Regions from separate parts of the Homo sapiens genome. Here all the other regions are linked to region 2. Evidence: promoter capture Hi-C in 16 types of primary human blood cells and fetal thymus (Javierre and others, 2016). All regions are on one chromosome and are shown on one strand. The core of a region is centred on a gene start or on the middle of the fragment in contact, and the rest is flanking DNA. Distances in the headings are between cores, read along the strand shown.

The links. The method cuts DNA at HindIII sites, captures the fragments that hold promoters and counts their contacts. A CHiCAGO score of 5 or more calls a contact.
Region 1: a fragment that was not itself captured here is called in contact with the fragment with the promoter of NDNF in region 2 in 11 of 17 cell types (erythroblasts, activated CD4 T cells, monocytes and 8 more); the score reaches 8.5 in erythroblasts.
Region 3: a fragment that was not itself captured here is called in contact with the fragment with the promoter of NDNF in region 2 in 1 of 17 cell types (endothelial precursors); the score reaches 5.5 in endothelial precursors.
Region 4: a fragment that was not itself captured here is called in contact with the fragment with the promoter of NDNF in region 2 in 7 of 17 cell types (M1 macrophages, endothelial precursors, M0 macrophages and 4 more); the score reaches 8.4 in M1 macrophages.
Region 5: a fragment that was not itself captured here is called in contact with the fragment with the promoter of NDNF in region 2 in 4 of 17 cell types (endothelial precursors, megakaryocytes, total CD8 T cells and 1 more); the score reaches 8.6 in endothelial precursors.

The regions. Positions count from the first base shown.
Region 1 is chr4:120,159,023-120,161,722 of GRCh38, forward strand. All of the region lies in intron 3 of MAD2L1-DT (MAD2L1 divergent transcript), which reads left to right. Among named protein-coding and RNA genes, the nearest start is that of MAD2L1-DT, 93 kb to the left of the region's middle. The HindIII fragment of the contact is 2,023 bases long and covers 269-2,291 here.
Region 2 is chr4:121,071,223-121,073,922 of GRCh38, forward strand. It overlaps NDNF (neuron derived neurotrophic factor), which reads right to left and starts at 1,313. Exons shown (of 4, transcript NM_024574.4): 1 at 771-1,313. NDNF-AS1 (NDNF antisense RNA 1) reads left to right here and starts at 140. Exons shown (of 3, transcript NR_187407.1): 1 at 140-358; 2 at 2,528-2,642. The HindIII fragment of the contact is 1,993 bases long and covers 622-2,614 here.
Region 3 is chr4:120,193,485-120,196,184 of GRCh38, forward strand. No RefSeq gene overlaps it. Among named protein-coding and RNA genes, the nearest start is that of MAD2L1-DT, 130 kb to the left of the region's middle. The HindIII fragment of the contact is 846 bases long and covers 853-1,698 here.
Region 4 is chr4:120,133,778-120,136,477 of GRCh38, forward strand. All of the region lies in intron 2 of MAD2L1-DT (MAD2L1 divergent transcript), which reads left to right. Among named protein-coding and RNA genes, the nearest start is that of MAD2L1-DT, 68 kb to the left of the region's middle. The HindIII fragment of the contact is 2,947 bases long and covers 1-2,700 here.
Region 5 is chr4:120,090,863-120,093,562 of GRCh38, forward strand. All of the region lies in intron 2 of MAD2L1-DT (MAD2L1 divergent transcript), which reads left to right. It also overlaps the pseudogene LTV1P1. Among named protein-coding and RNA genes, the nearest start is that of MAD2L1-DT, 25 kb to the left of the region's middle. The HindIII fragment of the contact is 2,749 bases long and covers 1-2,649 here.

The sequences.
Region 1 (2,700 bases), core at 30-2,529, 910 kb before region 2:
GACTCCCCTTTAGGAATACTGCTGCTTCATGACAATGCTGTTGTCTGAGGTCTGGGGGAAAGAAAACCCATAAAAGTTTGGACTCACTTTTCAATGCCCTCGATTCAATTCTTTTTTTGTGCTTTGGAAAACTGTGAAACAGGGTCACCAAGTTCAATTCTCCATAGTTTTATTATGTTTTAAATGAAGCGATTGAACCTGCACAGAACCCAGACGGACAGACACCACATGGCCACTTTGTGGCAAGGCAGCTTCTTAGGAATGGTGAAGCTTGTCTTAGTATGTTTCATGGGGTTGGGATCTGCACTATGGTTCCTTAGTTTAAAGAACCAAAGTAAACAAAACTCTTAAGCAAAATACTTAGAACCCTTTTTCCTGGAGAAAAAGTATACAATAAATGATTCTTTTAGCTATTGAGAAGCTAACCTAAGCATGTAATCATTATTTGAAAACCAGCCTGTGGATATCAAAGGGATTTTATAAGGTGATGTCATTTTCTACCTGGCCAAGCTGCCTTGATGGCTTTCAGTTCTTGTCCTTGAAATAGAGTTCTTGTCACACAGAGCCTTTCATAATTTTGCTGAAGAGTTATTTGGAAAAAATGATTTCATTCTTATTTTTTGTCTAGCAATGCTTTGGTCTTCCTGAGGAGAATTTTAAAAGTTAACGTTTTCCTTTATTTTTTAGAATGTAGTTGATTTTGTTAATTGCAACCCTCTGAAGACACAAGATAAAAAGAAGGCCATGTTTTGATATTACTGCCCTTTTCTACTACTGCACATTTGCAAACATCTTTGTGAGAGTGCTGTAACTGCAAATGTCAGCATTAGCAGTATTTCTTCTTCACAGTTTTACTTGTGATATAGTGACATATTTTTCCATGCAACTACAAGGTATTGTGTTCTTAAATGCCCATTTTAACCCTGCTTTGTTTTAACTCACATACTGATTTGCTTTTAGATTTTGTCATTAATTTTCTTTTTCTATGCAATACAGACATATGTCTGCTTGAATATCTTTTTATGGCTACCTCAAGAATGACTTACAGGGTATAAAATTGTCTTTAATATAGGTGACGCTGGGTTAGTCATATTTTAATTGTTTTGATCAGAGCTCTGAATAGTTTCCTGATTCTCCTCCAATTACCTGTCTTCCTAATTCTCAGCTTCTAAGGAAGAAGACAAGTAAGAGTCCATCTGACAAAAGAAGCTATTCTGATCTCTAGATCCCATCTTTATTTGGTACTATTGACAAAGAACTGTTATTGCCCCTGCAGAGAACATTGGTGGCTTCACTGTCCTTGATTTTTTACATAAAATTTGCTATTACTGTCCCTTCTCTGTTTTCTTATTTTCTTTTCTGGTATCTCTCTTCTCTTCTAACCACTCTCAAATAGTACATACAATTGTGTTCTTCTCTTTCTAAATTCCCCGTTTTCATGTTTTTCAGTGCCTTTAGGTCTTCATCCAATACCTCGATGTAGGTAATTCCAAAAATGATAATTTTACCTCAATTCTACTCCAAGAGTTAAGTTGTTCATTTGGTGTTTCTATTGGTTATTATACTTATTACAAATCTTGGTAAGTCTGAAACTAGGTACTATAAAAGATTTTCATGTGGTAGTTTTTAAATGTGTTCAAAAATTATTTGACACAATCCTCTTGAAAAAGTAGAGCTGGGCCGGGTGCGGTGGTTCACGCCTGTAATCCCAACACTTTGGGAAGCCAAGGCGAATGGATCACCTGAGGTCAGGAGTTCAAGACAAGTTTGGCCAACATGACGAAACCCCGTCTCTACTAAAAATACAAAAATTAGCTGGGCGTGGTGGCACGGGCCTGTAATCCAAGCTACTCGGGAGGCTGAGGCAGGAGAATTGCTTGAACCTGGGAGGCAGAGGTTGCAGTAAGCTGAGATCGTACCACTGCACTCCAGCCTGGGAGACAGAGAAAGACTCTGTCTCCAAAAAAAAAAAAAAAAAGAAAAAAAGAAAAGAAAAAATAGAGCCTAACATTCCTCTTCTTGAAGGTGTACCAACTTTAATAATCCTTTCTTGTGAATAGAATGTGACAGAACTGGCCATGTGTGACTTCTGAGGCTACATGGTAAAAAAAAAAAAAAAAAAAAAAAACTTTGCCTCTTCTGCCTTGCTTCCTCTTAGGTCACTCACTCTGGTAGAAACGAGCCACCATATCATGAGAATAGTCAAGCAGCCCTACAGAGATGTCCATGTGGACAGCAACTAAGGCCTTTCCATCATGGCTCCACCAACTTGCAGGCCAGCTGTGTGAGCAAGCTTGCAAGTGATCTTGTAGTTTTAGTCATTCCTTTAGATGACAATCCTGGTTGACATCTGACAGTAACCACATGAGAGATTCTAAGCCAGAGCCACCAAGATAAATTGTTCTTGAATTCCAAGTTTACAGAAAGTCTATGAGATAATATTGTTACTTTATGCCACAAAGTTTTGGGGTAGTAGCTTACGCAGCAATAGATAGCTATTCTAGCACTCCTCCAACAGCCACTTCATTTCTTATACAGTCATACATTGCTTAACAACAGTGATATATTCTGAGAAATGTATTGTGCAATTTTGTTGTGCGAACATTGTAGAGTGTCCTTGCACAAACCTAGATGCTATAGCCTACTACACACCTAGGCTATATGGTATAGACTATTGCTTCTGGGCTACAAACCTATATG
Region 2 (2,700 bases), core at 63-2,562:
CTGGCTGGGGCCGTAGGGGGCGTCACCTCGGTGGCCGCTCTGCTCTCCGGAAGAAAGTATGAGCCGGTCCCAGGCCACCTCGCTCAGCCCAAGGAAGTTTCTATAACGATGCTCGCCTACCACGCAGAGGACAAATGAGGAGCCAGAGCGGTTGGGGGTCGGGCCAACCGAACTCCCGGCCCCGGCTGCGCAGCTCCCAGACGCCCACCAAGAACTCGTGCGCTGCCTGGACCTCTAGCTTTTCGCCCTACACGCAGACGCCCTCTGCAAAACCCCAGTCCCGCAGACTTTCCCTAGCGGCGGGCGGAGGGCATGAACCTGGAAAGGGAGGCAACAGCCCTCTTGGCAGGCGGGCAAAGTAAGTGTCCAGGCTAAGTCCGGGATAAAGGCTCCGCGGCTCCCCAGACCCCACTGCACCCCGAGCTCCCGGGTCCCAGGTCTTCCCCGCCCTTGCGCTGTCTGTCCACCTCCTCACATCTCTCCGGGCCGCCCAGCTTCGAAAGCAGCTAAATTAAAAACAAACAAACAAACAAACAACAACAACAATAAAAAAAAAAAAACGAGGGAAACCTGCTCCTGCCCCTCATGCCCTCAGCTCCTACGGATAGGGCGCCCTTGAGAAGCTTCTTGGGCCTTGAAGATTTGGGGGCGCGTGCCTCGAGCCCCCATCTCGGATGACCCTTCGGGCGTGAACGCTCCTTGTGCTAGGTCTCAGGGTGGCGGGCTAAGGCGTCGGGTCTCTGGGGCATTGCTTTCCTCTCCCCACTTACCTTAAAAAGATCTGTTTTTCGTAGGGAAAATAGAAAAAAATCCCTCCCCGTGGTGTGGTGTGCGAAATAGTCCACGTCCCCGGACCCTGCCAAGATGCTAAGCACCAATATCCAGGAACGAGAAGCCTGGAGGGCGGGGACGGAGGCAGATAAAAGAGAAAAATTCAATCCGCTGAAGTGTCCCAACTTTGCGGTCGGCACAGCAAACTTCAAAGGCGGGCGAGGGCGGGCGGCGCGCGGTCGCCGAAGTTGCTGCGAAGTGGAGTAGGGAGCCGCGCGGGGCTGGGGAATCCCGGGGCAGCGCCGAGAAGCGGCGGGAGGTCCTTTTAAACTGCAGGGAGCGTGCGGGGGCTGGGCGGCGGGAGGATGCCGCAGCGACCCGCGGGGCTGGCGCGGGCTTCGCCGGCCGCCGCTAGTCGCACAGGCGCCTGGCTGGAGCGCCGCGCGGGGTGCTGGGAGAGCCGGGCGCACGGGGCGGCAGCGGCCGTGGCGGGTGCGCTGCTCAGTTAGCTCCACTCTCTCGCGGCTGGAAGTGGGGAGTGTGTGTTCGCTCCCGAGTGTCACTGCTGAAGCCCGGAGTCTCTTCCCCTCCCAGCCCTAACCCCTCCCGCCTCACCGCTGCCCGCCCGCCCCCTCCCTCCTCTGCCCGTTGCCTCCCCCTCCGTCCCTCCTTCTCTCCCTCCCGCTGCGCGCCAGCGCGCACGCACACACACACACACACACACACACTCATACACATACACACACTCACACACAGACACCCTCTCCCTCCTTTTCTCTCTCCCTGTAGCCCTCCCTCCCTCTCTTTCTCTCACACACACACCACCCTGCTCAGCGACCCAGCGCTCCCCAAACAGGACCCTCGCGGGCGGCATCGCGAGGGACACGCTGCTGTCCTAACCTTAGCGCCACTCGGGGAGAATGAAGGAGGCCCACCGAGCCCCCGACAAAGCTGCAAAACCCAGGAGACGCGCACGCGGGACCATCACACTGTCAAGCAGACCGGGGTGCACAATAGAGGGAAACTCTGGGGTTGATCTGGGGGCAGGGAGGGGGACGTGTTAAATCCAGAAGGTTGGTGGTTGGAGGCGGAAAGCAGAGTGTGCAAACTGTGCATTCATGTCCCACTTTTCACCCGAACGCCTGCCTATCACAGCCTTCACTCAGGGAGCGCTTCCCCCTCGGCGCAGACCGAGCCTCCTCCGATTTGAAACTCAGCAGCTGTTTTAACAATTGAAAAAGCGGCCCTACAGGACCAGTGAAACGGAGCAGAGTGTGTGAAGCCATTAAGGCTGACTAGGTAATTATGATAAAAAGTTACCTAATTAGCAACCTGGCCTGGGCTTAGGAAAACCAAGAAAAAAAAAGTACCGAATGATTTGGTGATCTCATTTTTGCAACTGAGAACCTGATTTCCAGCAAACCTGGTTTTATATAAGTTCTAATAATATATAATTATTTATTAAGATATAGTGTCAGTATTGAAAACACTAGTTCTGTTATTGCCACAATGAAATTAAGGTAGGTAGGATGAAAATCAGCCTTATCCCGGTCATATTAAGAACTATGATCTTTTTTGCTAAACAGTTGGTCACAGAGGGTGGACCAATGCAGCTCCTAAAGTTTTGTGGTTCCTAGATGAAAACACTGCAGGAAATGGATTTATAAAACCGTTTACACGACATAAAATAGTTTTGTAAAATTTTTAAACACTGAAAAGGACATTTCAGATCACTGTGCAAGCATATTTTTTGCAGATGAGACAATGAGGTGAGAAAAGTCCTCATTGTATCTCCACTTAGGAGATACGATCTAGAGCAGATCCCTGGGTCATTCATTAACAAAGCTTACGAAGTCCCTGCTGTGTACCAGGTATGTCTTATGTGCTGAGATTTAGAGGTGATGGTGCTGCCTTTAAGGAACTCACCGC
Region 3 (2,700 bases), core at 26-2,525, 880 kb before region 2:
TCAAGTCAAAACTGATTATCCCAAGTCATTGCCAGTCTCAATAAGAATGCTTAACATGTTTTAAAAATTCTTTTTATTCTTTTGAAACGTGCAGGGTAATTTTATTTTTAATCCTTCTGTATTCACTCTTGCCAATCATTCTGAATGTGAGTGATAAGTTTGTTTTGTATACATTTTATTTATAGCATAAAAAGTAAATCAAAGACATTAGTTTCATAAACCTTTCCTATTATCTTTTTTTGAGACAGAATCTTGCTCTGTTGCCCAGGCTGGAGTGCAGTGGCTTGATCTTGGCTCATTGAAACCTCTGTATCCCAGGTTCAAATGATTCTCCTGCCTCAGCCTCCTGAGTATCTGGGATTACAGGCATGTGCCACCACGCCCGGCTAATTTTTTGTAGTTTTAGTAGAGACAGGGTTTCACTGTGTTAGCCAGGATGGTCTCGATCTCCTGACCTTGTGATCCACCTGCCTCGGCCTCCCAAAGTGCTGCAATTATCTTAAATTAACAATTCCAGAAAGTCCTGCAATTCATGAGACTTGGTGAAAGTGGATTAGAGCTTTTCAAAGGTATTTTTTACAAAGTCAATGTTAATTTTATGAAACTGCTTCTAATTTGAATAATTATTTATCTTTTACCCAACCTGTAAGTCCTCTGTCCAATTAACGAGACTTTGGCCACCCATGACAAAGTTTACTCATTTGTTATCCTACTTGCAAAAGTGATGTTGATGGAATTTGTGATAAGCTCTGGTTTCTTCAAGTAATACTCAGTCTCTAACCTCTTCCAGAATAAAAGCCTAGAAAATATTCTGTGATCCCTTACAACTGATTGATTGGGGATGACATGTCAAGCTTTGGGCTGGAGATTCAGTGATTGCCTCTTGCCTAGGAGGTTTAAATTTTCATGTCTCCCTCTGAGCTGCAGCTAACATGTAACAAATTTGCCTGGTTAGATAACATTATTGCCTACAACTCTGGGCATCATACATGACTTGCCCATCCTGTAGTAAGGATAGGCATAGCCAGGCCTGGTGTGTGAAGCTGTTGATAGATGAATAATCCTCCATACTGCAGAAGCCAGAGCAAAAAAGCTAATCATGTATGGCAGTGAGCATGAAGTAACCTGCCTTCCCTCCTAAATAAACAGATGGAAAGAGTTTGCAGTTCATTTCTTTCCAAGGTAACAAATTATTTTATTTCTATGTTTTACAGTAACAGAACCAAAAGTTCTTCTCTTTGGGGAAATTTTATTTTTCTTTAATTATTCCATGCAAACAAGAGACCTGAGTCTTCTGGGGACAGATGCAGAGAAGTCAAAATTAATTAGTTTTTCTTATGATACACTGCATTTGGGTAAAATATCACTGTGGGGGCACAATGACAGATTACTCGATCAAGTGCTGAGTTACTAGAAAGGCAGAATTTTATCAGAAAAATCTACATAGAAATAATATTTCACCTTCCTTGAAAGTCAACATCGTTTGGTACTCTCCTTGGAGTTCTCGGTTCATGTACTTTCTTTCATCTACTCTTTGTCTTTCCTTTAAGATGTCAGACAGCATGGGAAAGTGATAGAGTGGCCTACAAGTCCCCAGTGAACTCAAGAACCATGTTGCTATTTAACTATAACATAAAAGTCACAAATCAAACTCAGTTTCTTTTTCTCTTATGATTGTCAAAGTTATACATTCTGAAAAGCTTCAAGGTGAAACAAAGAAATCTACTTCAATGATTCTCTGTCATTTCATAGGTAGGTGTTCAAATCAGGCTGTGAGCATTACACAAATACATCTGTGGCTCAAAAATCAGCCTTCAAATTAGGTATTTATTCTTTTCATGCCTGATTAAGACCTGATTATATGAAAGCATGCCAAGTACATGATTTACATTATTAAAATATAAGACTTCAGCATTGAGTATAATTCCCAAGTGATCTTATTATTAATTTATTAAGCATGTATCTTGTAATGAACTCAAGATTTCTGTCTCACAAAAGAATAGCATTATCATGTACTAATGAAATAGGCAAAGTATGAACCTCATATATTGAAGGCAAGTTACACATAGATGTCTTCAAGTCAAGGTCTAAGCAAGGTTGTTTGTAATTCAGGGGAAATTCTGGAAATAATCACCACAAAAATGTCTCTGTTAGTTCAAAATATTCATTAACAAAACCCAGGCAAATACCTAAAAACAGAGACTTCCTTGAATAAGTTTACATTTCAATTTTACTCATCCATTTATTTCTTATAAAATGATAAATAATAAACAAAGACCAAGAAAAGAAGAGCCCTTTCCAAAGCTTTCCTAATCAAAGACAATTTTTTTTTCTTGGATCTATTTTGTATACTCATTTCACATAGTAAACATATGACCATCTGTGATGGTTAATATGAGGTGTCAACTTGATTGGGTTGAGGGATGCATAGGTGGCTGGTAAAGAACTGGGTGTGTCTGTGAGGCTGTTGCCAGAGGAGACTGACATTTGAGTCTGTGGACTGGGAGACAAAGACCCACCCTCAGAGCACCTTCCAAAGGCTGCCAGCACAGCTACAACAAAACAGAGGGAAGAAGAGGAATAAGTGTGGCTCTTTCTGACTCTCTTTCTTCTTCCCATACTGGATGCTTGCTTCCACTCTTCCTGCCCTTAGACATCAGACTCCAGGTTCTTCTGTCTTTGGAGTCTGGGACTTGCACC
Region 4 (2,700 bases), core at 36-2,535, 940 kb before region 2:
CCTGAGTGTTCTGTAGGTGGAAACAGACCATTTAGATAATATTAATATATAAGACTTATCAGGTGCTCATAATGTCAACTATTGTGCTGCATGCTGCACATTTATTATCTTATTTATTACTGAAAACTGCTCCATGACAAAAAAGTTCTGTTGTTATTTCCCTAATGAAACTCAGAGAAATTGGTAATTTTTTTCAAGATCACACAGCTATTAAGGTGGTAGAGCTAGGATCTGAATCTAGAACTCAGACCCTTAACCCATACTGCCTCATTATTTTGGTTGATATATGAATGCTTTTAGGTGCCAATTACTGTGTAAGTTGAATATTTCTGAGGCCGTAGCTGCTTTGGAAAGCACAATGTCTGTCTTCATTCATAATAAGAAGATTTAATAGTGTTATTCTAGTTTTTTGGGTTATGAAGAGAATATATATGAACAAAATATATCTCTAAATGCATATGGTCTGTGACAGAAGAATATATACATGTCTGTCAATAAAATAAAATATATATTTAGCAATTTCTAGGCCTGATCATAATTATTTGTGTAGTTTCTAGATTCAACGAAATGATATAATCAATGTAATGTAACCAGACTGACTCTCTCTGTTACATTTTCAGGAATTTTAGAACATAGCGAAATGATGATTAGTGATTCAATTTATTTTCTAGAAGAAATAGATATGCCTCCTCTGTGACAGAAATTATATATGATCTTCCACTCTTGTATCAAGCCCATGCCCTCAAAAGTGCTCCAAGCATTGTTACTTTCCTGGATATCATGTTATACTATGAAAGTGTTCAGTGGGAAGTTAAGGATTCCACATTTTTTAAAAAATTTCTTTTATTGGAGAGTCATCAGGGCCTTCCATATACAATGTACATTAGTTTTTCAAAAGGAGTATAGATATGTTTTATTTCTCAGATTTATTTGAAGTGGACTGAGTCATAGATCAAAATTGGAAAACATCGATTTAGAATGAGGAAGGATTAAATTTATCCAGAAAAAAGCAGGAATAAACACACCATATTAAAAGGTGGGTTTATAATTTATTACAGGTGGGCCTATCTACATGTGTGTATATAGAAAATTTTATGTTAATTTAAAGCAACACTTATAGATGAATTAACAATTAGCAAATAATAAAGCTAGTAATAGAGGAAATATATGAGAACATTTAAGTCATGTTGCAGGGAGATTTTAACAGTTAAAAGTATCTTCCTGTTTCATAGACACGCAGACTTATAAACCAGACATAAATATCTACTTAAGACAGTTCAGTCCTGTTTAGTATAAGTCATGATTATGTGATTTTAGGTCATACAAAGACTCAGAAAGAAAAATACCTTAATTGTACTAGCGAATAATAGTGACAGCCTATAATGATGAAACATTGTTTCTAAGGGTAAAAATACAATTTTATGGTTACAATGGCTGTCCTCAATACATTGGTTGACATTAAATGTCAGAGTATCTAAAACTGTTCATGTCTCCAGGAGCCAGTCCTTACTGAGTTATAGTGAGAGGTATAAGAATTCCATTTGACAGAATGTCACTGATGAAATCGATCTAGAATCTTTACAAACTGCTGCTATTTTTTCTTTGCTTCCTTCAAAATTTCTGGACTTTCTACTCAGTAGATACATCCGGAAAACGATGGGACGAAATTAATGTGGGATACAGTAATACAGTGGGTAGTCAATGAGAAATAAATAAAATATTTGGGGTCTGCAAAGAAAAGAAATGACAAAAAGAAAAATAAGACCTTGTTTTATTCAGGGATGTGACACTATCAGTGTAATAGGCAGACATTTTAAATACTATAAATGACCTAAAGTTGTTATATAATTATGGATAATTCATTAATTTGGAGGAACATATATCATGTTTTTCAGTGATTCATAGAAGAAAACATTTCCATGGTCACAAAAATCTATTTCTCAAAGAAAATATATACAGATTTCAATGGCTCAGTAAAAAGACATTCATATCCCAAGGCAGGATTTAGTGAAATTTTTACTGCTATGTGTTGAATGAAGATCTCTGTAATATTTGTCTGTGTTCAGGCTTATCAGAGGTTAAATGCTGAAGGTGCTAATGCCAAAAAAGTTATCACTTATCTGTTGTCATTTGAAGGGAAATACTTAGAGTTTCAAGTATTATTTTCTGGGAATTTCAGGATTTTCTTGGAAATCTGGCTTTTTAGAATTATAGATATGAAAAATTTGTGTGGTGGTAATTTGATCATGAGATCAACAGGAAATGACATAAAAACATTTCTAAAAGTCTTACATAACTTTGATTCATCTGGTATAAAGGTTAAATTATTTTTTGGATCTTAGAAAAAGAAAATAATTATGATTACCTTTGGCATTTATTTCAATCAACATAAAGCATTTACATTATATGACATGCTTAATTAAAAAAAACAAAAAAGTTTACATTATCCAGAAACTTTAATTTCTATTACAATTTATTTTTCGTGAAAACACTTTCTTGTTTCTTGTAGGAAAATATATTTTCTGGGATTGGAGTCACTATTTTGAGCCTTTCACAGATGTGGTTGTTTCCTACCACTAGTACACCTTCTTATAATAAACAGCCACAAAAGGCTAGATGCCACTGGCTGTATGGACCTGAATTTTGAGTAAGAACCCTTATAGATTTCTTGAAGCCTTTGCAGGGATCAAGAATATCTAC
Region 5 (2,700 bases), core at 25-2,524, 980 kb before region 2:
AAAAATATGAAAATATGTACAAGAGGGTTAGCAGGAAAAACTTGGTAAAGAATTAATTTAAATACCGTACTTTCTTTTTCAATACCCATTAGTAAAAAATGGCAGTAAAAATATTCTGGTTCATAATTGAATATAATGAGGAGTTCCTAATGGGGAATGTGCCTTTTTCTAAATGTCCCATTGTGATAACTTTAGACCCTCAACATTCTTCTTCAGGTTCAGTAGTTCATTTTCCTGCCTTCTTTTCTCTAGTTTGAAGGTTCATTTGTTAGCTTTCTTCTCCATTCTCTTGTGCTCTTTTACAGCTTGCTTTCTTTCTCTTTTATTTTCTTTGCTTTCATTTTTAGAATGTGGGTTGATACCCTTTGCAGATCCCTGCCATTAATCATCTGCACATATTCAATTTGATTTGCGTTGAGTTCTTTCTTTGGTAAGCCATTGAGAGATATTCCTGTTTCTCATTTTTGGATTTGTTGGGCTTTCGTTGATGCTGGATAAACTAAAGATGGTTATATAAATGTGAGCATGCACGGCAAATGGATTCTTCATCAATTTGCTTTTGCTTCTTTTAGAACTATAGGAATTATCTCTACCTCCCCCAACTCATCAATCTCATTTACTGGCAGACAATTTTATCCTCAGAGGCTTAAAGAGTATTCAGCTTTACACAATTTGCTGCCTTCTCTTTGTATCAGTCATTCAAAACTTTGTGTAAACGATTGCTCAAGTAACTCAGGTCCACTCTGTCTATGTGAATGAAACCCTCCAATTTGTCATCATCCAGAGCTACAATCTTAAAATCATCATATTGTTCATAAAAGTTCTCAAACTTCTCTTTTTATAGGGTCAGCTACTCTTTTCTTTTTAGGACTCAGGAAGTTATATTCTATGAAATGACAACACATTTCCTCTTCCTTAAAAAAGTGGCTTTCTATGACTTTGTGAGATTTTCCCAGGCAGACAAATAATCTTCATCTGAAAATGGGCTTTGAAAATCAGTCATTATTCCTTGCTTTCACTTTTTTTTTCTCATCCATAATCCATTAACTATCTAATATCTTTCTCAAACTCTGATGTAAACATTGATTAAGGCAAATTAATTTCAGGGCCTGGAATTACAAAATTCCTTCTTTCTCATCTCTTTTCCTGCATGTACTGATGTGTTTTTGGGAATAAGGGGAATAAGCACTGAGGGCCCAGATGGTTCTTTCAGATGCTTTAGGTAGTCACAACCATCATCAAAAACACTTCATAACTTCCTCTGTTTTACTCACCTTGTTTATCATTTTTTTTAATGTGTGGACAACACAACTCCTCTGGGATACATTGGTATCTGCTACTGAAAATCTCTTTGACTTGAGTGGACCATGTGAAAAGACACAGTTTTCTCGTCTATAAAGGTCCCCCTCCCCAAACTCATTCTGCAACTGTGTAGGGCTTCCCCTCAAAACAGCAACTATATACCTTAGTGTCCCAGACAGAGCAGGTAACATTACATCCCAGGAGTGTACAAGGACCAGTTAATAGCCACATCTTAAGGCCTTGCCACAGTGCTGCCTTTGGATTTTGTAGCACAAACCTGAAGTCTTGGCTCAGAGACACAATGAAAGCTGCAAATATTCCACCCAGCAATGCCTGAAAACACCCACTCTGTCTCAGCCACACCCGCAAGGTCAACCAAAGCAACCCAAAGTCTTAAATTATCTGCCAGATTCTGTGCCTCACTCAGGGTTGAAAGCCCACATAGGTTATCACCTAAAGCCCTCAGCCCTGCATTAAAATACTGTAATTTCCTATGCGATTTTGTCCCCCAAAACCTACCCACCTGGTCCATTTCTTATTTATTACTCAAGACTCCTTGTATATCTACCAAGATTTTGGAGTTTAGTGAGGATCTATCCCTTTTTTCCCCATCTTAATCCTTGAACCAATCCAGAGACAGATGCAGGATTTCAACAGAAGAAAATAATATTTTAATATAGCACTTTTATTAAAGATAAAGTTGATTTCTAGAGTCGGAGTATTCCAGACGTAGACTTATTTATTTATTTAATTTAATTTAATTTAATTTTTTTTGAGATGGAGTCTTGTGCTGTTACCCAGGCTGGAGTGCAATGGTGCAATCTCTGCTCACTGCAACCTCCGCCTCCCAGGTTCAAGTGATTCTCCTGTCTCAGCCTCCTGAGTAGGTGGGATTACAGGCACCTGCCACCACTACCCTGCTAATTTTTTTTTTTTTTTTGTATTTTTAGTAGAGATGGGGTTTCACTATGTTGGCCAGGCTGGTCTTGAACTCTTGACCTCATGATCTGCCCACCTCGGCCTCCAGAAGTGCTGGGATTACAGGTGTGAGCCACCTCGCCTGGCCTCTATATCTTTACTTAACATGTTCAATCTTTTCTTAACTGCTTCAACAAATGGAATACAGTTATAAGAACCATATTATGTTTTATGTATTTTAGGTTTAATATCTTTGACTACCAATTCTATTATCTGTGTCATTTCTGTGTCAATTTTGATTGATTTATTTTTTCCTCATTATAGATTATATTTCCCTGCTTCTTTGTATTCCTGATCATATTTTAACATGAGACATTGTGAATTTCACCTTGGGTGCGTTATATTTTTGTAGTCTTTAAAATATTTTTAAGCTTTGTTTTTGGACAGGGTGAATTGGGAACTACTTGATTCTTTGTGGGT